Regions from separate parts of the Homo sapiens genome. Here region 2 is linked to region 1. The links are contacts of gene promoters, found by promoter capture Hi-C in blood cells and fetal thymus (Javierre and others, 2016). All regions are on one chromosome and are shown on one strand. Each heading gives the region's core, a stretch centred on a gene start or on the middle of the fragment in contact. The rest is flanking DNA. Distances are from core to core; before and after follow the strand shown.

Region 1 (4,671 bases), core at 1,629-4,128:
GAACTCCTGGGCTCAAGAGATCCTCCCAGTTAGACCGCTGTGCTGTTGGCTGAAATACCAATAATGAAGTAGCTGACAAGGTCTTAAGCTTTCAGTATGTTACCATGTTGAGGACCTAATATTCAACTTTATAAGACCCTATCAAGTGGGGTTGGCTATTTTCTTTTTACAAATGAAGATGCCAAATCATTACCCCATTTTACACACATGCAAAATAAGGTATGGAAATTTAAATGATGCCCAGGGATGTAGTATTCCAACTTGTCCCTTCCAAGTTGCTTAAATAATGATCCTGCACATAGAGGGCAGAAAGCTGAACTGTGTCCCAGTACAGTCACAGTGAATGATATTTCCTCAGCTGTCTATCCCACAGGACTGCGAGTCTCTGGAGGATAGGAATGTGTCTTATGCAGCATTATGGCCTATCACGGTACCTGGCATATAACAAATGACCTATTTTTGGAAAGCTTTGGAACCTGAGTCATGGTGGATGCCATTGCAGAAAACAATTTTGCTATTTTTGTGTTTCATAAACCACTTGAGTATCTTGAATATTTATGACTTTATTTTGCTTTTCCAGAATGAATATGCTGATTACTAATTTTGATCACTAACCACGCAGTCATCATTTCCAAACACACAGCTCACTTAGCCTAGAACAACCGTGTGGGTCTTTAAATCATTTTGCAGATGATGAAATGGATTCAGAGAGGTTAAGTAGCTCGCCCAAGGTTGCATAGCTAGTGAACATCAGAGCCAGGTAAGTCTGACCCCAAAGCCAGTAGTCTGTCCACTCAAATATGTCTACATGTCACCTACTTCTGGAAAACCTCAAGGGAAGCTCAACCTCTGATCATAGCACATAACTCAATTCAGAGTGAGATAGCTGAAGGCAGGCTGTAACCAGTATTGTCAATATTTGGCACTTTCAATGTCCAGTGTTTTGATGACCCTGGATATTTGAGAAGGAAATAACACAAAACATGTTTCTCATTTACAGGGGTTGCTTTCTAAGTTGTGACTAATCCTTAAGTCCACCTATAATTTGTACTGTTTTGTTCCAAATGCCAAAAGCTTCTACAAGGGCTACAATGCTGATGTGCTAACATTGACCTTGATACCTTGATGATGTAATATTGAGACATATATCAGTATTTGCTGGTCACTTCCTGAGAAGTTGGATTTCAGTGAATCTCTGGGGAGCCCTTAAAATAAACTAGGGTATTTTGTTCAATAGTAAAAGTTAGGTATTTAATATTAAAGGAACCAGAAAGTGAGTGAGCAGTGTTAGATGTAACATATATCTTCTTCATCCATTAATTCAATAGATATTTGAGTCTCTATTATCTGCCAGCAGTATTTAGGGACTGGGGATATACAAGTAAACAAAACAGACAAAAATTCCTATCTGTTTGGAACTTACATTCAGTGGGAAGAGACAAACACAATGAAAGGTAAAACATAAGTCAGATAGTAGCAGGAAGTCTTTTTTTTTTTTTTTTTTTTTGAGATGGAGTCTTGCTCTTTCTCCCAGGCTGGAGTGCAGTGGTGCCATCTCCACTCAATGCAACCTCTCCTGCCTCAGCCTCCCGAGTAGCTGGGATTACAGGCGCCTGCCACCACGCCTGGTTAATTTTTTGTATTTTTAGAAGAGATGGGGTTTCACCATGTTAGCCTGGCTGGTCTTGAACTCCCGACCTCAGGTGATCCAACCACCTCAGCCTCCCAAAGTGCTGGGATTACAGGCGTGAGCCACCGCGCCTGGCCAAGTGGTATGAAGTCTTTTGGAGAAAAGTAATGCAGGGAAAAGGAGCAGAGAATGCTGGGATGTGCGTGCAAGTTTTTTTTTTTTTTTTTTGATGGAGTTTTGCTCCTGTTGCCTACGCTGGTGTGCAATGGTGCGATCTCGGCTCACTGCAACCTCCGCCTCCTGGGTTCAAGCGATTCTCCTGTTCAGCCTCTGGACTAGCTGGGATTACAAGCGTGCGCCACTACGCCTGGCTAATTTCGTATTTTTAGTAGAGACGGGGATTCTCCATGTTGGTCAGGCTGGTCTCGAACGCCCACGACCTCAGGTGATCCACCCGCCTCGGCCTCCCAAAGTGCTGGGATTACAGGCGTGAGGCACGGCGCCCGGCCTGGACTTCTTACATTAGCTATCAGAGCGGTGATGGTGCGCATCAGCCATGGCCAGGGACAGGAATATAGGGAGATGATAATAAAGGTGGTAATGAAGTCACGGCCACCTGCCCTTATGAAGTCAAAATCATTAAAGACCCAGTGACGTTCATGCCATCCAGGGTTGAGGCCTCTCTTCTGCCCACCTGTGGTCCCAGGCCTAGTTAAACACCAAAGCTGTCTCTCACACTGGTGGTTCCAGGATAAAGCCTCGGCCTGGGGCCTGGTCTGCACGTTAGGCGCCGGCCGCAGCTCGCAGGAGGACCCGAGCCAGCCCGCCCCTTCCCGCACAGCCTGCTGGGAGTTGTAGTTCAGTCGTCGGAGAACCACGCCAAGCCCCGCCCCAGATGAGTGCGCAGTATGAGGACCGCTGGCCGGGACCCAGTGAGCGCGGGACTACAATTCCCAAAGGACGGTAGCACTCAGCGCCCCGCCAACAGGTACCCGGCGGCTCGCTTCGCGCACACGCGGCAGGCGGTGGCGGGATTCTGCCGCGTGCGCTTTCCCGCCCCGCCTCGCCTAGCCTCGTCCTGCGCTCGCCACGCCTCGGGCTGTCCGTTGGGCCACGCAGACCGCGCTGCGCTCGCTCCGTCGCGGCTCCGCGTGCCCCACCTTCTGGCTAGTTTTTTCTAGAGCCCAGGCTCCGCCCGTTTCCCGCTTCCAGGGCCCGGTTCGTTCCCGCCCGCACCCGTCCCTCTCCTCTGCACCCCTGCTGCTTCTGCTTTGAAGGCGGAGGCTCCATGTTGTCCCCTCAGCGAGTGGCAGCAGCTGCCTCAAGAGGAGCAGGTGAGGCGCCGATTTTCCCTGGATCGCCCCGCGGCCACCCCCGCCGCCTTCCCTGCTGTAGTTCTGAAAAGAACCCCCGCCCGCGCCGCCGCCCTTCCTCGTCCCGGGGCTGGGACCGCGCGTCCCTCGCCGGGGTCACTCGGTTTCCGAATTTGTGGTGGGGGGGCCCCTCTTCGGGCCCAGCTGGTCCAGCGAGGGCGGCACCTTCCTTACTTTTCGGCCGGGGGCGGCCGCCGTCAGGGCTCGGGCCCTGGTGCCGCCGGGGGCTCCTCCAGCTCCTCCCCTGGGCTGCAGCTGCCCCTGGGCGGCCCAAGGGCCGGTGGTCCCCGTGGGCGGCGTCCGGAGCTTCGGCCCCGCCGAGCCCCGCCCTGGGCAGAGCCGGGCGCCCCAGGGCGCTGCCCCTCCGTGCCCGGGCACTCAGCGCCCTCTCTGGTCGGAGAATCGGGGCCTGGATGGAGCGGGAAGGTGAATGCTGGTTTATTTGGCCTTTCTGGAAGTGCTGGAAGGCTGCGAAGTGTCTTGGAAGCTTTATTTTTATCCTAACGACCTTGAGGCACTGACCACAAGTATTAGGAAAGTTGGTTTTCAACCCATACTTAACGCTGTAAAGAATTGGTCTAAATTGGTTTTTCGTAAGTTAGTGCTTTTGGCACAGTACGTTGTTCTTTTGCTTTCCCGAAGACATGAAACATAGTGAAAGTATTAAAAACCAAATAAGGAGTCACCGTGTATTCACGGATCTGATTTAGTCTGTCATTTTACTTGGCTTTATTCTAGTGTAATGTGTGTGCTGTTGAAATGACCGTTTCACTTGCGAAATCGAAGAGCAAAAAGGAAAAGAACAGTGAAGAATTTTTAAATGAGTCTCAGTTCTCAAATTCAAATACGAAGCAATGGAACGTTTTGTCAGTCTTAGAATAACGGACCAAAAATGTACGATTTCACATATTGGCTTACTTTTGGAGATTTAAGAAGCATAACCTACGGAGTACTAATCCCTGTCAAGAATTTAGCATTGCAACATAGGTACTGAAATTCAAATTAGTGCTTTTTTTTTTCCATTCCCACAGAGATTAGCTTGTACTCCAGAAATTCCTGTTGCCGCTCTAACACCTGTAAACACTTGGCTGAGAAGGATCTCAGTATTGCAGTAGTCCAGCACATTGTTTTATTATTATTTTTTGAGACGGAGTTTTGCTCTGGTCACCCAGGCTGGAGTGCAATGGCGCGATCTCGGCTGATTGCAACCTCCGCTTCCTGGGTTCAAGCAATTCTTCTGCCTCATCCTCCCGGGTAGCTGGGATTACAGGCGCTCTCCACCATGCGCGGCTATTTTTTTTTGAGACGGAGTTTCGTTTTTGCTACCTAAACTGGAGTACAGTGGCGCAGTCTCGGCTCACTGCACCCTCCGCCTCCTGGGTTCAAATGATTCTCCTGCGTCAGCCTCCCGAGTAGCTGGGATTATAGACATCCGCCACCAGGCCCAGCTAATTTTTTGTATTTTTAGTAGAAACGGGGTTTCACCACGTTGGCCAGGCTGGTCTCGAACTCCTGACCTCAGGTGAACCACCCTCCTCTCCTCGGCCTCCCAAGTACTGGGATTACAGGCGTGAGCCATCGTGCCCGGCCCATTATTGTATTAGCTACAGTTTACTACCTCATTGTAGTAGAATTCATGAAATAGAAGTAACGGGATAGATGTGGTGT
Region 2 (5,152 bases), core at 1,962-4,461, 780 kb after region 1:
ATCATGCCAGCTAATTTTTGTATTTTTAGTAGAGATGGGGTTTCACCATGTTAGCCAGGATGGTCTCGATCTCCTGACCTCATGATCCTCCCACCTCGGCCGCCCAAAGTGCTGGGATTACAGGCGTGAGCCACCGCGCCCGGCCTCTTGTTCTTTTTTTGTTCTTTCTCTTGTTCTTAGCTGAGCTTGTTACATGGGTTCTAGTGTCCCATCCCAGACCTTCTGAATCAAAACATCCAGGAGAAAAATTCAAGGCTTTTCTTTCTTTTTTTTTTGAGACGGAGTCTCGATCTGTCACCAGGCTGGAGTGCAGTGGCGCAATCTCGGCTTATTACAACCTGCAACCTCCGCCTCCAGGGTTCAAGCAATTCTCCTGCCTCAACCTCCCAAGTAGCTGAGACTACAGGCACACGCCACCACGCCCAGCTAATTTTTTTTTTTTTTTTTTTTTTTTTTTTGAGACGGAGTCTCGCTCTGTGGCCCAGGCTGGAGTGCAGTGGCACGATCTCGGCTCACTCCAAGTTCCGCCCCCCAGGTTCATGCCATTCTTCTACCTCAGCCTCCTGAGTAGCTGGGACTACAGGCGCCAGCCACCACACCCGGCTAGTTTTTTGTATTTTTAGTAGAGACGGGGTTTCACCGTGTTAGCCAGGATGGTCTCGATCTCCTGACCTCGTGATCCGCCCGCCTCCTCCTCCCAAAGTGCTGGGATTACAGGCGTGAGCCACCACGCCCAGCCACTTTTTGTTATTTTAGAAGAGACAGGGTTTCACCATGTTGGCCAGGATGGTCTCAATCTCTTGACCTCGTGATCTGCCCGCCTCGGCCTCCCAAAGTGCTGGGATTACAGGCCCAAGCCATTGCGCAGGAGAAGGCTTTTATTTCTAATCATTGCCCTCGGGCATAACTCAGCACACTTGGGAAACACTGATCTGCTTTAAGAATCATTTGGGGAAGGTGGCTAAAAATAAACTTCCAGCCAGGCACGGTGGCTCACGCCAATAATCTCAGAACTTTGGGAGGCCAAGGCGGGCGAATCACCTGAGGTCGAGAGTTTGAGGCCAGCCTGAACATGGTGAAACCCCGTCTCTACTAAAAAAAATACAAAAATTGAGTGGGGCATGATAGTGGGCACCTGTAATCCCAGCTACTCAGGAGGCTGGAGCAGGAGAATCGCTTGAACCCGGGAGGCGTAGGTTGCAGTGAGCCGAGATTGTGCCATTGCACTCCAGCCTGGGTGACAGAGTGAGACTGCTTCTCAAAAAAAGTAATAAAATAAAATTAAAATAAACGTCCAAGCTCACACCCTTGGAGATTCACAGCATATGCCCCTTGGAGATTCTGATTTGGTGTAAGTTGGATGGGAAAATTTTTTCCAGAGGATTCTGCATAACCAGGCTGGGAACCACTGATCTACATGATGGGGTAAAGTACAGACAACTTGAGCCATGGCTGTTAAAGCCCTTTGTGCTTCAGCCTCTGGTTGGCTCTCACCACTCTCCCAATTTGTCCAAAATCACACTTTATGTCCCAGTTACAGTTCCTCACATTCGTCAGGCTGTCTCAACTGAGCAGTGGTACATAATGTCACCTATACCCGGTGGCCTTTTCCTTCACATGCATAACGTGAATGCCTTCTGGTGCCTCAATCTCAGCTCAAATGAAGGCTCCAGGAAGCTTTTCCTGATCCCTCTGGGGTTAAGCTCCTCCTCGGTCCATCACAGGGCCTGGTGCTCTACAGCCTTTATCTCACCCCCGGTTACTTACACATCTGCTTTCACTCCTGATCAGTGAAAATCAGATCAGCAGGACAGTATTTTAGTTCCGTTTATGTCCCCAACATGTAGCACATCAATTGGAACCAGAAGAATGGCTCAGGCTGACAGAGATATCCACCCTGACCCATGAGCCAAAGGCAGGTAATTGGCCAGGGATCCCAGGAAGGACCAAGTCCATTGGCACATGGGGCTTGACCATGGTACTAAGGCCTGGGTCTGAATGGCAGCTCCATTGCTGTGTCTAGAAGGGTCCCTTTACTTCTCTGAGCCCTCAGCCTCCATGAACAGGGTTCCCACAGTCCTCCTAGGTGTGTGTCATAATGACTTAAAAGTGAAAGTCATTAAACCAATGACTTGCTACATTGTTACATTATCTCAGTTTGTGGTGCCCTTAACCCTTAAGAGAGGTTCTCAGTGCTTATCATTTCAAGCGCTTGGTCCTTTGGAGGTTGGAAATCATGTCAGAACAGGGTCTTGTTCACCCCTGTACCCAGAAAGTTGAGCATGGTACCAGAGACAGAGCAGTAACTCAAAAATGCTTGCTAACAGCCGGGCGCAGTGGCTCATGCCTGTAATTCCAGCACTTTGGGAGGCCAAGAAGGGCAGATGACTTGAGGTCACGAGTTCAAGACCAGCCTGGCCAACATGGTGAAACCGTCTCTACTAAAAATACAAAAATTAGCTGGGTGTGGTGGCAGGCACCTGTAATTCCCAGCTACTCAGGAGGCTGAGGCAGGAGAATCACCTGAACCCGGGAGGCGGAGGTTGCAGTGAGTCCAGATGAATACCACTGCACTCCAGCCTGGGCGAAAGAGCAAGATTCCATCTCAAAAATAAATAAATAAAATAGTAAATTTTATGCCATGTATCTTATAATTTTTTTTTTTTTTTTTTTTTTTTTGAGACAGGGTCTCACTCTGTCACCCAGGTTGGAGTGCAGTGGTGCAATCATACCTCACTGCAGCCTCAACCTCCAGAGTTCAAGTGATCTTCCCGCCTTAGCTTCCAGGTTAGCTGGGACTACAGGCACATGCAACCATGCCCAGCTAATTTTTTTTTTTAATAGAGACAGGGGTCTCACTATGTTGCCCAGGTTGGTCTCAAACTCCTGGCCTCAAGAAACCCTCCCACCTCAGCCTCCCAAAGTGCTAGGATTACAAGCATGAGCCACCAGTTGGCCTTACTATACTTTTCTTAAGTGAAAATCTCCCTGGTGGTCTAGTGGTTAGGACGGGGGAAAAGATGAAAATTAAATAAGCACATAACCATAATGAGGCTCCATCCATAATAGCACTAAGATAAAAACTGTGTTAAGAGGGGAGTCCAGGAGGCAGAGGAAGGAGGAAAGGGGGAGGGCTGGAGCTGGGACCCTGGGAAAGGACATGGACAGGGAAGGGTGGGGAGCCTCAGGAAGAGGCCCAGAGCAGGCAACAGCCAGAAGGTGGGGCGGGTGTGGGGGTGGTTGCTGAGAGAGAAGGGAAACCCTAGGCAGAGGGAAGCCAAGGCCCAGCAGGCTGAGTGTCTTCTCAGGAACTGTGCTGACAGCCTCAGGATCCTGGGCCTTAATTTGGGTCTTTTAATGTCTTGATCTCTCCCCTACACCAGGAAACCCTCAGAGGCCCAGGCCCACTCCAGGACACAGCCCATGGGAAGTGAAGCCTGCACCAGTGACCCGCGTTTTTTGTTTTGTTTTTTTTTTTCCGAGACTGAGTCTTGCTCTTTTGCCCAGGCTGGAGTGCAGTGGTGTGATCTTGCTCACTGCAACCTCCGCCTCCCAGGTTCAAGCAATTCTCCTTTCTCAGCCTCCCGAGTAGCTGGGATTACAGGCGCCCACCACCATGCCCGGCTAATTTTTGTATTTTCAGTAGAGACGGGGTTTTGCCATATTGGTCAGGCTGTTCTCGACCTCCTGACCTCAGGTGATCCAACTGCCTCGGCCTCCCAAAGTGCTGGGATTACAGGCACGAGCCACCGCACCCAGCCAGCATTCTTTTCTGTAAGAAAACTAAGAGAGCCGAACTAACTCCAAGGGCCATGAGGCCTGCGCAGATCACTAGTACTGCAACAGGATCCCAACAGCAAATACTGCAGATCTGCTTGCACAATAAACGCAGGACCAGCCAGGCACGTGGCTCACGCCTGTAATCCCAGCACTTTGAGAGGCCGAGGTGGGCGGATCACGAGATCAGGAGATCGAGACCATCCTGGCTAACACGGTGAATCCCCGTCTCTACTAAAAATACAAAAAAATTAGACGGGTGTGGTGGCGGGCGCCTGTAGTCCCAGCCACTCGGGAGGCTGAGGCAGGAGAATGGCATGAACCTGGGAGGCGGAGCTTGCAGCGGTCGCACCACTGCACTCCAGCCTAGGTGACAAGAGTGAGTCTCAAAAAAAAAAAAAAAAAAAAAGAAACGCAGGACCCAAACACTTCTTAACACTTCTTACCACCTCCACTACTACCATCCTAGAAAGTATTCTAGGTTGCAGGAACAAACCATCTTAACTGGCCTCCCTGCAAGCTGGCTAGTAACAGCCAGTGAAGTCTGTTAAATTCCAAGCGAGACCATGTCACTCTGCTCAAAACCCTCCAACAACTCCCATTCCACTCCCTCAGACTCTATGTGTAGTGAAGAATTCTTACTTGGAAGTCTGGCCTTTACCCTCGGCTACTGGTAAGTGCCCTCTAGACCCATGGAATGTCCTGACCAACAGGAGTGTCAGTGATAAATGTGATTTACGATCTGAGCTTTGGAACAGGCAACCTCTGGGGGAAATGGAGACAACTAAAGGCCTTAGCCCAAAGCTCTCACAGGGGCTGAAGATTAAAGGTCAGCCACAGGGCACTATGTGATTAAACACCAGGGGAAACTCGGCACACCCAAGGATCAAGTGAGCTTCTCTGGTTATATCTCCGTCATGGCCGGGAAGAAGTACCAGGACTCCATTGCAAGATAGCAGGAAGCTTCTTATTTAGCTCCCTCCCAGACCCCGCCCCAGGCCTCTCATCTTTTGGCTGGCTCTGGGTATGCTTTTGCTGTAATAAAACCATAATCCCAATACCTTCCTGAGTTCTGAGTCACTCTAGTCTATTACCTACCTGAAGGTGGTCATGGGGACCCCTGAACTTGCAGCTGGTATTGAAGTGAAAACAGACTTGTGGGGACCATGCCCTCCAACCACGTAGGCTGCCAAACTCTCTGCACCCTACGTGACCACCTTATTACAACTGTCATGATCTGCCCACTCCTTGCCGATGAGACTTCATCCCTTACTCCTTTCCTCATTCATATCAGCCAGGCTCCCACCCCTCAGTCCCAGGAAGCCCCTTCCCCAGATACTCACCAGGTGAACTCCCTCACTTATTAGGCCTTTAC

What was found. Contacts are between HindIII fragments. The CHiCAGO score rates a contact against its expected background, and 5 or more counts as called.
Region 2: a contact is called between a fragment that was not itself captured here and the fragment with the promoter of ATL3 in region 1, in 1 of 17 cell types (megakaryocytes). The highest score is 6.5, in megakaryocytes.

The regions. Positions count from the first base shown.
Region 1 is chr11:63,669,583-63,674,253 of GRCh38, reverse strand. ATL3 (atlastin GTPase 3) reads left to right here and starts at 2,878. Exons shown (of 13, transcript NM_015459.5): 1 at 2,878-2,964. The coding sequence starts at 2,919. RefSeq lists enhancers at 2,362-2,471, 2,512-3,011, 3,012-3,513 and silencers at 2,562-2,681, 3,002-3,061, 3,092-3,351. The HindIII fragment of the contact is 2,416 bases long and covers 1,077-3,492 here.
Region 2 is chr11:62,889,468-62,894,619 of GRCh38, reverse strand. No RefSeq gene overlaps it. Among named protein-coding and RNA genes, the nearest start is that of SLC3A2, 11 kb to the right of the region's middle. The HindIII fragment of the contact is 3,063 bases long and covers 1,680-4,742 here.